Regions from separate parts of the Homo sapiens genome. Here region 1 is linked to region 2. The links are contacts of gene promoters, found by promoter capture Hi-C in blood cells and fetal thymus (Javierre and others, 2016). All regions are on one chromosome and are shown on one strand. The core of a region is centred on a gene start or on the middle of the fragment in contact, and the rest is flanking DNA. Distances in the headings are between cores, read along the strand shown. Region 1 overlaps TXLNG (taxilin gamma). Region 2 holds the start of ZRSR2 (zinc finger CCCH-type, RNA binding motif and serine/arginine rich 2).

What was found. The method cuts DNA at HindIII sites, captures the fragments that hold promoters and counts their contacts. A CHiCAGO score of 5 or more calls a contact.
Region 1: a contact is called between a fragment that was not itself captured here and the fragment with the promoter of ZRSR2 in region 2, in 5 of 17 cell types (total CD4 T cells, activated CD4 T cells, total CD8 T cells and 2 more). The highest score is 6.1, in total CD4 T cells.

What each region holds. Positions count from the first base shown.
Region 1 is chrX:16,787,536-16,794,118 of GRCh38, reverse strand. The region is part of intron 1 of TXLNG (taxilin gamma); the gene reads right to left. Among named protein-coding and RNA genes, the nearest start is that of TXLNG, 4.4 kb to the right of the region's middle. RefSeq lists an enhancer at 4,811-5,311. The HindIII fragment of the contact is 430 bases long and covers 2,695-3,124 here.
Region 2 is chrX:15,787,219-15,793,127 of GRCh38, reverse strand. It overlaps ZRSR2 (zinc finger CCCH-type, RNA binding motif and serine/arginine rich 2), which reads right to left and starts at 2,644. Exons shown (of 11, transcript NM_005089.4): 1 at 2,592-2,644; 2 at 2,115-2,194. The coding sequence starts at 2,632. It overlaps CA5B (carbonic anhydrase 5B), which reads right to left. Exons shown (of 8, transcript NM_007220.4): 8 at 4,717-5,909. CA5BP1-CA5B (CA5BP1-CA5B readthrough) reads right to left here. Exons shown (of 12, transcript NR_160544.1): 12 at 4,717-5,909. INE2 (inactivation escape 2) reads left to right here and starts at 5,539. Exons shown (of 1, transcript NR_002725.2): 1 at 5,539-5,909. RefSeq lists enhancers at 1,157-1,658, 2,317-2,766. The HindIII fragment of the contact is 2,263 bases long and covers 1,858-4,120 here.

The DNA.
Region 1 (6,583 bases), core at 1,660-4,159, 1.0 Mb before region 2:
TGTGTGGCCATAGGGAGGCCAACCTGTCAGTTTCCTTATCTGTAAACTGGGATGTACAGTACTTACCTTCTTAGCGCCATAAGTAGATATAATAGGTATAAATTGCTGATAGATATAAACTGCTGACACATAGCAGAACTGTTATAATATTTGAATGAAGACATTTTACAGGCTGCGTGCAGTGGCTCACGCCTGTAATCCCAGCAGTTTGGGAGGCCAAGGCAGGAGAATCATGCTTGAGCCTAAGAGTTTAAGACCAGCCTGCGCAACATAGGAAGACCCTGTCTCTCAAAAAAAAGAAAAAAAACAGCCAGACATGGTGGCACACACACCTGTAGTCCTAGCTACTAGGAAGGCTGAGGCAGGAAGATCACTTGAGACCAGGAGTTCAAGGCTGCAATAAGCGTTAACTACACTCCAGCCTGGGCAACACAGGGAGATCCTGTCTCAAAAAAAAAGAAAAAAAAAAAAGATATTTTACAAAATGCATTCATTCTCACTTTTAATATGGCCCATTTTGCAATCCAAAAGACCCATAAAGAAATGAGTTTCTAAGCTACTGGCACATCTTTCTTGCCAAACCATTCTACTACCTTGAGAGTAGGGAAAGAAGAAACATGAAAAAAAAAAAAAGTAGCCAGTAAATATTACTCAGGACAGACTATAAGGTGGGAAGTAGGAGATAACAGAGGTCATTCTAGGGACGTTTTGGAAATGCAACACAGAATGCAAATCAACACCCTAAGCAATAAATGCTAATACAATTATTTTGATAGCATAGGAGGAAAACACCAGTTATTTTATGTATCTTTTCCTTCAAGTAATAAAATGTAAGTATTTATAAGTGCCAACAGAATTTCAACTAGGAGGTAGATTCAAACATAAAAATGTACTCCCAGGGTCTTAATGGATCTTAAAGGTCACCTTACCTATTTCTACCCTCTTCTAGAAATGTCCCATCTCAATGTTGATGAATATGATATTAAATTTGTATATTATTGTATACTTTTTTTTTTTTTTGACACGGAGTCTCCCTCTATGTCACCCAGGCTGGAGTATAATGGCACGATCTTGGCTCACAGCAACATCCGCCTCCCAAGTTCAAGTGATTCTCCTGCCTCAGCCTCCCGAGTAGCTGGGATTACAGGCATGCATCACCATGCCCAGCTAATTTTTGTATTTTTAGTAGAGATGGGGTTTTACCATGTTGACCAGGCTGGTCTTGAACTCCTGACCTCAGGTGATCCACCTGCCTCGGCCTTCCAAAGTGCTGGGATTACAGGCATGAGCCACTGTGCCTGGCCTATACTTTTTATTTTTATTATTATTATTATTTTTTAGAGACAGGATCTCACTCTCTTGCCCAGGCTAGAGCAGTGGCCCAATCGTGGCTCACTGCAACCTTGACCTCCTGGACTCAAGTGATCCTTCCACCTCAGCCTCCCAAGTAGCTGGAACTACAGGCACATACCAATGTGCCTAGCTAAGTTTTTTATTCTTCATAGAGACGGGGTCTCCCTGTGTTGCCCAAGCGGGTCTCAAAATCCTGGCCTCAAGCAGTCCTCCCGTCTCGGCCTCCCAAAGCACTGGGATTACAAGCATGAGCCACCATGCCTGGCCCATACTTTATAAATACTGACACACCCGTTATATTAACTAAAAGTTATTCATAATCACATTAGAACCAAACAAGAGGAATTAGGGGGAGGGCAGCAGGAAGAGGAGGAACAGGCAAACAGATTTCTTGAGGTATTAAGTTAAAACTTAACGAGGTAAGCAGAAACTTCCTGGGCATTAGAAGACATCTGTCATACTATCAATTACACAACTATACACTAACCCTAGCAAACGTCACCAACTGTGGGCTCTATTATTCAAGCAAGTTTGTTTCTGACTAAGACTCAGATGCCTTATCTATATACCTGGGGATACCACCTACCTTGCAGAGTTAAGGAGATATTAGAATGCATTCACACCTTAAGTGACTAACACAGTGCATGAAACACAAATGAAATTTGAGGTCTCCAAATTTCTTTCCTTTGAAACATAACTCTGAGAAGTGTAAAACTGTGACAGCATATCTATTTAATAGAAGCCCATTATAGTGAATCTTGTGAAGAATCCCACAAAAGCAGTTTTATGTCATTTGGATTTGATATATACCTTCCTAAACAAAACTTCTCTAGGCAAGACCAATATAAATAACACACAAAATAACATAAAACACCTTCCAGGCAGGGCGCGGTGGCTCATGCCTGTAATTCCAGCACTTTGGGAGGCCAAGGCAGGTGGATCACTTGAGGTCAGGAGTTCAAGACCAGCCTGGCCAACATGGTGAAACCCCATCTCTACTAAAAATACAAAAATTAGCCAGGCCTGGTGGCGCATGCCTGTAATCTCAGCTACTCGGGAGGCTGATGCAGGAGAATCACTTGAACCCGGAAAGTGGAGGTTGCAGTGAGCTGAGATTGCGCCATTGCACTCCTGCCTGGGCTACAGAACAAGACTCCATCTCAAAAAAACAAAATAAATTAAAAATAAATAAATAAAACACGTTCCAATAACATAATAAATATGACATAATATGATATGAAAATGTGGCATGAATAGCAGAATATGCTGTATCTGGTTTGTTCTCATTACTGCTTGTCCTATTTGATCCCAGTAAAAGAAAAAAATAAATTTACCAAAGCTTGGTGATACAATTAGAAAACAATGGTGTAAGCAGAAGATCACTTTACTTTACTTCTCATTACTTAATCTCTGTACCAGAAGAGTGGAAGTTCATCAAGTTGGCAAATGGGGAGAAAAACAAGATTAATGAAATGGCTTTTTCCTGCCCCCATACTCTTGCCCAACCCTGACCTGATTTCTCCTCATTATGTCTATCACGGAGAGATTCTGGGAAGAGGAGAGAATATAAAGGTTGGAAGATGGATTTACAAAATTAGCACCCTAAATGCAAGAGAAATTAATCTCTTCCATATGTCCTCCCCTCCAAACCATGTAAAATTCTACATATCCCACACTGTGCCAAATGTGTCCCATCAACTCCTTCTTCACAGTAATCCCCTGTGGTAGGTATGAGCATTATCCCCTCTTTACAGATGATGCAACTGAAGCTTAGAAAGATTGAGAAACTTGCCCAAGGTTGCAGAGCTATGGGCGGCAGAAAGCCAGGAGTCCCAACTCCAAAATCCATAGATTTACCCAGTACTACACTACTCATTACTGTAGTATAGATGAAAGAGTATTGGGTTCCAGACTCAGCTTCACCCCTTAGGCAAGTGAGTTAACATCGTTGAGCAGCTTGTCATCAGCAAATGAGGGCAGTGAAAGCTGCCCAGCCTTCTCCACAGCATCTGACTGGTGCTGAAAGAGTTAATGTATGTGCAAATGTGCCATAAAAACTACAGGGCATTATGTAAATGCAAGATTTTGTTAATTTGGGCCTAGGTACCTTGTATTATCCTTCCACATGGTTTATGGACCTAAAAATTAGTTTAATAGTAGTTAAATAATTTTTAACATTCCCAAGCAAAAATCTAGTAAAGAAAAAAAATACCAACCTTAGACAAGCTGGAAAAGGCAAAACTATGGAGACAGTAAAAAGATCAGGCCAGGTGTGGTGGCTCATACTTATAATTCCAGCACTTTGGGAGGCCAAGGCAGAACGATCGCCTGAGCCTAGGAGTTCAAGACCAGCCTGGGCAACATAGCAGGACCCCCAACTCTAAAATTTAAAAAAAATAAAATCAGTGGCTGTCAGTAGTCTAGGGGAAGGGAGAGAGGGATGAATAGGTAGAGCACAAGGGATTTATAGGACTGTGAAACTCTTCTGTGTGATACTATAATCGTGGATCCATGTCACTACACATTTGTCAAAATGCATAGAATATATAGCACCAGAGTGAACCCTAACGTAAACTATGGACTTAGTCAATAATAATATAGCAATATTGGCTCATGAATTTTAACACAAGTATCACACTAATGCAAGATGTAAATAATAGGGGATAAGGGTCGGGCGCAGTGGCTCACACCTGTAACCTCAGCACTTTGGGAGGCCGAGGCGGGCAGATCACCTGAGGTCAGGAGTTTGAGACTAGCCTGACCAACATGGAGAAACCCCGTCTCTACTAAAAATACAAAAAAAATTAGCCGGGCGTGGTGGCACATGCCTGTAATCCCAGCTACTTGGGAGGCTGAGGCAGGAGAATTGCTTGAACCCGGGAGGCGGAGGTTGTGGTGAGCCAAGATCATGCCATTGCACTCTAGCCTGGGCAACAAGAGCGAAACCCCATCTCAAAAATAATAATAATAATAGGGGGAAAGGGTGTGTGTGAGGGGGTATATGGAAACTGTACTTTCTACTCAATTTTTCTGTAAAACTAAAAACCATTCCCAAAAAAAGTCTATTAATTTTTTTTTAAATCAACCTTATAAAGCAAATTCTACATAGGGATTTAGGAAGTAAAACGAATGAGCCTGATGTTCTAAAAAATGCCTGACATACTAGATATTGTGTACTCATCTTTTTAGACCAATGCTGATAAAATTTTTATGCAATGATGAAAATATTCTAGATCTGCTCTAATACAGTAGCCACTAGCCACACTGGCTACTGAATACCTGAAACTTGGTTAGTATAACTGAAGAAAAAAATTTTTAATTTTAATTTTAGTTAACAAATTTAGCTACATGTCACTAGTGGCTACTATCAGCACAGTTTTAGAAAATTCCTGAAGAGACCCCTAGTAATGTACTGTAACATTACCTTTAGAAGCAAAAGGTTACCTCAAGAGACCATTCAAATGGTTGTAGTTATGAAACAATGCCACAATTAACTGAGCAGGTCGCGAGTGACTAGGCAGATGGTTAAAGCAACCAGGAACCAAAAAAGCCCATCTCCAATTGTTCCTCACTTCAGGTCCCATAATGTAACTAGATAATGACAAAACACTCACTTTTCTTTTAATTCTTTCAATATTTTCAAAAAACTCAATTCATTAAACATTTCTGCTTCCTGAAAAAAAGGATAGAAGTTAAGCTGGAATTAAGAAATATTTTTTCAAGTCAGTGACCCAAAAGAAATTTTAAAATTAAGGGACACAATGAAGTAATGTAAAAATGATTTTTAAAAAAATTTTTGGCCAGTTGCAGTGGCTCATGCCTGTAATCCCGCCACTTTGGAAGGCCAAGGTGGGTGGCTTACCTGAGGCCAGGAGTTCAAGACCAGCCTGGCCAACATGGTGAAACCCTGTTTCTACTAAAAATATAAAAATTAGCTGGGCGTGGTAGCACACATCTGTAATCCCAGCTACTCAGGAGGCTGAGGCACGAGAATCGCTGGAACCCACGAGGTGGAAGATGCAGTGAGCCAAGATTGCATCACTGCACTGCAGCCTGGGTAACAGAGCAAGACTCTGACTCAAAAAAAAAAAAAAAAAACACAACAAGTTTGTTTGTTTTTTTAAGAGACAGGGTCTCACTCTGCGGCCCAGGCTAGCCTCCTGCTTCAGTCTCCTGACTAGGTGGTACTACAGGTGCATGCCACCATAGCTGGCTTAAAAATGATTCTTGCAAACACAAGATAATTCACCCAATTTGTTAAATGAAAATTCAAAGATTAATATTTTACCATGTATTTGAATGCCGTCACTGTCAGTTAGAAATCAAAAAGAAAAAGATGCTCAGAAGAGCATAAGCAAAGAAGAATGGAGTATGAGGTACATAAACAAAAATGAGTAGACACACACATGACTATTCCTATCCAGCTGTTAACCAGAGCTCTGCACCTCAAAGGGTCATTACCTCCTATCTTGGTTATTTTAAATGCTAGTTGATTAAACCTCAGTTCCTAATTCAACGACTTTTTGTCCTTATCCCAGTGTCATAAAAGGGAACTTATATCCTCAATTGCAGTGGCTTTTTATCAGAGTCCTCCTCCCCTGGGGAACCTACGAAATCAAACACTGAGATTGGCACTCCACCCTTAGGGAATAAGTGAAGTGTCCAAAGTGATGGTGTTGAATCCCTTACAGGACATTGGTCCACAGCTTCTTTTTCAGTCCTGCAAGCACTGGATCTTTCTTTTAGAATACAAAGAGAGGGAGAGAAAGAAAGAGAGGTAATTGAGAAGTAGTAACACTGTCATGCAGAAACATGAAAATACCTGACCTTAGAAACAGGCCCCAAAAAGCTAATTCTTAACACTCTGCTCAGACGTAAACTGGACCTTTGTTCTCCCATTTGAAGTTTATGAATTGCATTAGAAAAATATTATTTCGTAATTTCATACAGGAGTTAAGAGTGTTCAAATACATAATTAAGTAATATTAAATAGCCCTCGGTGATCAAGCAAGATATCCAACAAGTCGAACGTTTCAGTATGTTCACCTGCAAGGAAAAAAAGAGATGGGGTTCCCACCTTCCCAGTCTCAGTCCCCGCAATTATCCATTCCAGGGCCCCGAAAACCCTGTACCCCGTTCGTTGTGCAATCTTTTTCAAACTCCACCCACTGAGCTCCAGAACAAGTGGAATTGTCCCGTTCTGAAAGAGGTCTCAATTTTCCTGTATCTA
Region 2 (5,909 bases), core at 1,395-3,894:
CAATAAGGGCCTCAATAACTCCAACCTATTCTACTTTTCCTTTTATCCCTGATGCTTTGTTCTGCCTCTAGTGGATGAGTTTTCAACTAATAAGACAGAAATGCTAACACAGGTTGCAGTTAAACACACTGCTCCTTCCATTCTAAATATCCCAGTACTGACACTAAAATAATTACTCAGGAACACCAATGGTAAATAAAACCTCTATGGCTATGTTTCTCAAGGTCCAAGAATCCTAGTTACTTGAGGCCATGGTCTCTGGATTTTAAGAATTGTCTAGGATAATTTCATGAGCATATTCTGGATAATGCGGATGACAATCATTATAAGCCAGTACTACTGTGTGATTTCAGTGCTCCCATCTGGATTTATAACTACTACATAATTTTATAACTAAGTCCTAATTTTATTGCATTAAGCAGGTAGATTTAATACATAAATGTTAGGTTTTGCCATGTGAAGGTCAAATGACCATCTGTACAAATAAAGGTTCTACAGTAATTTCATAGAAAAAGTGGTAAATAACTATAAGGCAACATTAGTAGAGGCATTCCAAACTCCCATCAGTGCCATATACATATTGTGAGGAGCATTAGTTTCACATCATCCCTAGCATTACCTGATGTAGATTTAAATTTTACCGAATGTGTAATTTCATTTAGTTTTATAATTTATAAATGTATTTTTATTTGTTTGTTTGTTTTTTGAGACAGAATCTCACTCTGTTGCCCAAACTGAAGTGCAGTGGCAGGATCTCGGCTCACTGCAACCTCTGCCTCCCAGGTTCAACTGATCCTCTTGCCTCAGCCTCCTGAGTAGCTGGGATTACAGGCACCTGCCACCAAGCCCAGCTAATCTTGTATTTTTAGTAGAGGCAGGGTTTCATCATGTTGGCCAGGCAGGTCTCGAACCCCTGACCTCAGGTGATCCATCTGCCTCGGCTTTCCAAAGTGCTGGGATTTCAGGCATGAGCCACCACGCGCCCAGCCCATATATTGTTTTATAGTCAAACAATGGCTTCAGGTCAGGTGTGGTGGCTCATGCCTATAATCCCAGCACTTTGGGAGGCCGAGGTGGAAGGATTGCTTGAGGCCAGGAGTTCGAGACCAGCCCAGGCAACACAGTGAAATCCCGTCTCTACGAAAATTTTAAAAATTAGCCAGGTGGGCCAGGGGCGGTAGCTCACGCCTTTAATCCCAGCACTTTGGGAGGCTGAGGTGGGTGGATCACCTGAGGTCAGAAGTTCGAAACCAGCCTGGCCAACATGATGGGGTTTCACCCCATCTCTACTAAAAATACAAAAATTAGCCGGGTGTGGTTGCGCACGCCTGTAATCCCAGCTACTCGGGAGGCTGCAGCAGGAGAACTGCTTGAACCCAGGGGGCGGAGGCTGCAGTGAGCCAAGATCGTGCCACTGCACTCCAGCCTGGGCAACAGAGCGAGACTCCGTCTCAAAAAAAAAAAAAAAAAAAAAGAAAAGAAAAGAAAAAATTAGCCAGGTGTGGTGGTGAATGCCTGTAGTCCCAGCTACTAGGGAGGCTGAGGTGGGAGGACTGCTTGAGCCTGGGAGGTGGAGGCTGCTGTGAGCCGTGGTTGTGCACATCCCTCCTGGGCAACAGAACAAGACCCTGTCTCAAAAATAAATAAATGAGCTTCATAACTAGTATTATGTTGATATATATTTGAATAACATAATAATTTGGGTAAACCAAGGGTCTCATATTAGTCAAGTTTGAGAAAAACTTGCAAAACGTCTAATTAATACCTTCAACTCCTGCTGGTTTTACGAAGAAAAACATTCACCGAATACTTACTACGTGTGCAAGGACTGTGCTAGCTGCTGTAATTCATGAAGCTTGCAACTGTAATATTAGATACTTTATAAGTTACACAGAATCAGTGGGCGATCATTCACCAAGACTTCCTCTTCCTGCCTTTAGTATGTTAACATTGTTTCTGACATGTGTTTCTAAATAACTACTTGGGGGCAGAAGTCACAGCTATTTTTCCTCCGACACAATATTTGACTTCCTTCTGACACTGGGGCTTCAAGTTAGGGCTGGAGTGGACAGAGCAATTTCACAACACAGAAAACAGAATAAAGAGTCCATCACCTGAGTCTCTCAGTCGAGCAAGTTCCTGCCGACGTTTCTTTCGTTTCTCCTTCTTCAGGGCGGCCCTGTACTTTTTGTGGCTGGAAGATTAAGACATATACACGACGATCAGCGGCTACAATGCAGCGCTGCCCGAGCTCCCCGCTCCTCTGTGCCCAATGAAAGGAAATAGTTCGGGTGCTGAGGAGAGAAACCTTGCTTCCTGTATTTTAATTACAGAACAGCCATCTATCATCGCCTCATCCTCCCACTCCCAGACAGTTCTTCTCCATCCGCCAACCTGATCCTCTCCTCGCTTGCCTGAGCCACAGCCGCCCGTGCAAGTCCGGGGAGGGCACCAGAGCGCGCACCAGGAAGGAATGGAGCTGCCGCGGTGGCTCACTTAGCTTGGCCCAGCTTCTCTTTTCTTCCTGCCACCACATCCTCCATGCCCACGATCGGCCCGCTCGCCTGCTCATCTCCCCGTACGGCGCTTACCTTGGTTTCTCGGGAAACGTCATCTTCTCGGGCGCAGCCATCTTGCCGGCACCGCCCCGCCCCTCCAGGTCTGGCAGGAAAGGGCGGGCCTAAGAGTCGAGACGGGCACGCGCAGGCGCGGGTACCGAGCAACCTCCACCAGCGTGGGACTTGAAACGGAAAGCCGGAGGTACCCTTCGGCGGCTCGTCTTCCAGAACCCTGCTCAAATAAATACCTCCTTCCAGCAAAAATACTCTGGGGCTTTTACCCCGCCCTAGAAGTAATTGTCGCTTCAGCACTTGCCCAGTGCTGTATCACTGTCTCCCTCCTCGCCCTAGCAGGACGTGTTGTGGCTAGGCGGTTAAAGTCGTACTCTGCCGCTTTTCTCAGCATCCACTCATGAAGTCACATCGCGCACAGAGCTGCTCGCCCGGCTTTATTTCCGACCTGTCCAGGTTCCGCGTCCTTCCGCCGATCCACCTATCAGCGCCTCAGACAAAGCTCCAGACTTCGCTCCCTGCCAGTCACACCTGTTCTGGTCCCTTAAGCAAACCTAACTCCCAGGGCTGCAAAGCTGTTACCTCTGCCCCTGAGGAGTTTACAATCGAGGGGGCAGAGAAGAACCAATACATAATATGATGCAGGCAAAGATGAAGTTTACCTAACATAGTCCACCAAGGGATTCAGGGAGAGCTCTCTTTTTTTTCCTTTTTTCTTTTTTTTTCAGTATCACATGCGACTCAACTGCAGTATCAGGGACAGCTTTCTGATGCTAAGAGTTGAGTTTGGAAAGAAGATGCCCTTTACCCAGAAGGAGAAGGGTGGGAATGCAGTTACAGTCAGATCAGCATAAGCAAAGGCGCTGAAAGGTGAAAGTGGAATATGCTGGGAACAGCAAGAATTTTGGCAATCGAATTTATTTATTTATTCATTTCTTATATATTAGAGACAGGGTCTTGTCTTTCACCCAGGTTGGAGTGCAGTGGCGCAATCACGACTCGCTGCAGCTTCGACCTCCTGGGGTCAAGCAATCCTTCCACCTCAGCCTCCCGAGTAGCTGGGAATACAGGCGCGAGCCACCACGCCCGCCCAGCTATCCAATTTAAAGTGCAGTTCGAGGCTGGGTGCAGCGGCTCACGCCTGTAATCCCAGCACTTTGGGAGGCCTAGGCGGGTGGATCACCTGAGGTCAGGAGTTCGTCAGCCTGGCCAACATGGTGAAACCCCGTCTCTACTAAAAATACAAAATTAGCCGGGTGTGGTGGCACATGCCTGTAGTCCCAGCTACTCTGGAGGCTGAAACAGGAGAACTGCTTGAACCCAGGAGGTGGCGGCCGCAGTGAGCCGAGATGGCACCACTGCCCTCCAGCCTGGGCAACAGAGCAAGGCTCCGTCTCAAAAAAACAAAACAAAATAAAGTGCAATTCGAGAATATCAAGGAATATAGTTGTTGTGATGGGCTGGGAGGGCTAGGTTAAGGAGGGCCTGGTGTGCCATGTTAAGACGCTCTGTTTACATTCTGTAGAGACAACAGTGAACCGTTGAAAGCTTTTTAAATAGAGGCTTATTGTGGTTGTGTTTGTGTTTTAGGTAAATCACTCTGCTTTGCAATATAAAGGATTTAAAAGATAAAACTAGAGTATCACAATAATCTAGGTGAGAGGTGTTGAGGAATTAAACTGGGGCAATGAGAGTAGGGATTGAGAAACTAAAAATCATCCCAACTAATAATCAGACTGTAATGTACACATACAAGGCCAGGGACAAGGCCAAGCAAAAAATGTTCCTCACAAGGATGCATTACAGCTGTAAAATGACTAATAACCTCTATCTTTTGAGTGATTGAATAGCTTCCTTGGCCTACCTTTGTTCCGTTCTCCTCCAAATTAAAGTTTCTGAGATACTCAATTACTAAACTGCCTTCCTTCCCCTAATCCCTCCTTAGAATTACTCAGCTGAAGCCCAAACTCTGCATAAAACCTCACCCTAATCTCTCTTATACTGACACACTTGGAGCAACACATATGCCCTTCACCCCCAAGTTGACCTTGTCCAGCTCAGTGCATTGGTTGGCTGTGATCTTGAGTAAATTCCTTAATGTCTACTCCTGTTTTCTCATTTGTAAAAATCAAGATAGTAATAATAGTTCCCATCTCATAACCCTTTTATTGTGAAAACTGAGTAAGATAAGCCATGTTATATGCTGATACAGTGCCTAGCAATAGTGAATGCCTCCAAAACTTTAGCTGTTACATCATCTCATCACCATCATCATTAGTGTGAAAACTTCCTGACCCCTCAAGAGGGGATGAGGCGCTGTATGCATTTCCAGTACAAGTATTCCACCTTTTATAACATCTATCATGGTTTACTACACATTGTCACCTTTACCTTTCTGCTTCTTGACTAAATCTTAAACTAAACTCTCTAGTTGGAGGTTTGGCAGTTGTATCCCCAAACTAGAGTGCCCTGGATGGCACAGAATGTTGTAGCTATGCAACTCACCAATTTTGCTGGTCCCTGTGATCAGAATTTACGCTGAGAATTGCTGCCCGTTCTGAAAGCATCAGTGTTTAAGTTGTTGTAACATTTCTTCTGAATCAGACCAGACTTTCACTTCAGAACAATAAGTAACAATTCCTTCTAAGAAATCTCGGCTCACTGCAACCTCCGCCTCCTGGGCTCAAGCGATTCTTCTGCCTCAGCCTCCTGCGTAGCTGGGATTACAGGTGCATGCCACAACCACCTGGCTAATTTTTGTATTTTTTAGTAGAGACGGGGTTTCACCATATTGGCCAGGCTGTTCTCGAACTCTTGACCTCCGGTAATCTGCCCGCCTCGGCCTCCCAAAATGCTGGGATTACAGGCATGAGCCACCGCACCCGGCCATAGATTTTTTAGTGAGTTAGAAATGAATGTAAATTTCCTTTTATAGGAGTTAGACATTTATTTTTAACAATTAACCACTGAATTCATTTTCAGAAATAGGCCTGAATTGCTTGTTAATTTCATTACAGGAAGTAACTCTAAAAGCCAATTCCACTTCCAAACTATAATTACCATCATCTGAATTTAACAGGGAAAGACATCTTCCAAGACTTCTTTTGGGCGGATGCTTAGTTTTAGAATAGCCAACTTTACCCTAACCCATGTACAAGACAGTTCTCCAGGTGGCCTTGGACTGACCCAGTTCTCCCTTCTTCCTTGCTTGTAGTTCTTAAGAATAACTGTAGAATGCACTGGGAATGCAATATCCTGATATGGAGGAACTGCCTGAAACAGGTTGGCCTTGTTGTTGTCCCTCCTAGGGAATGTAACATCTTGATTTAGGGAACTGTT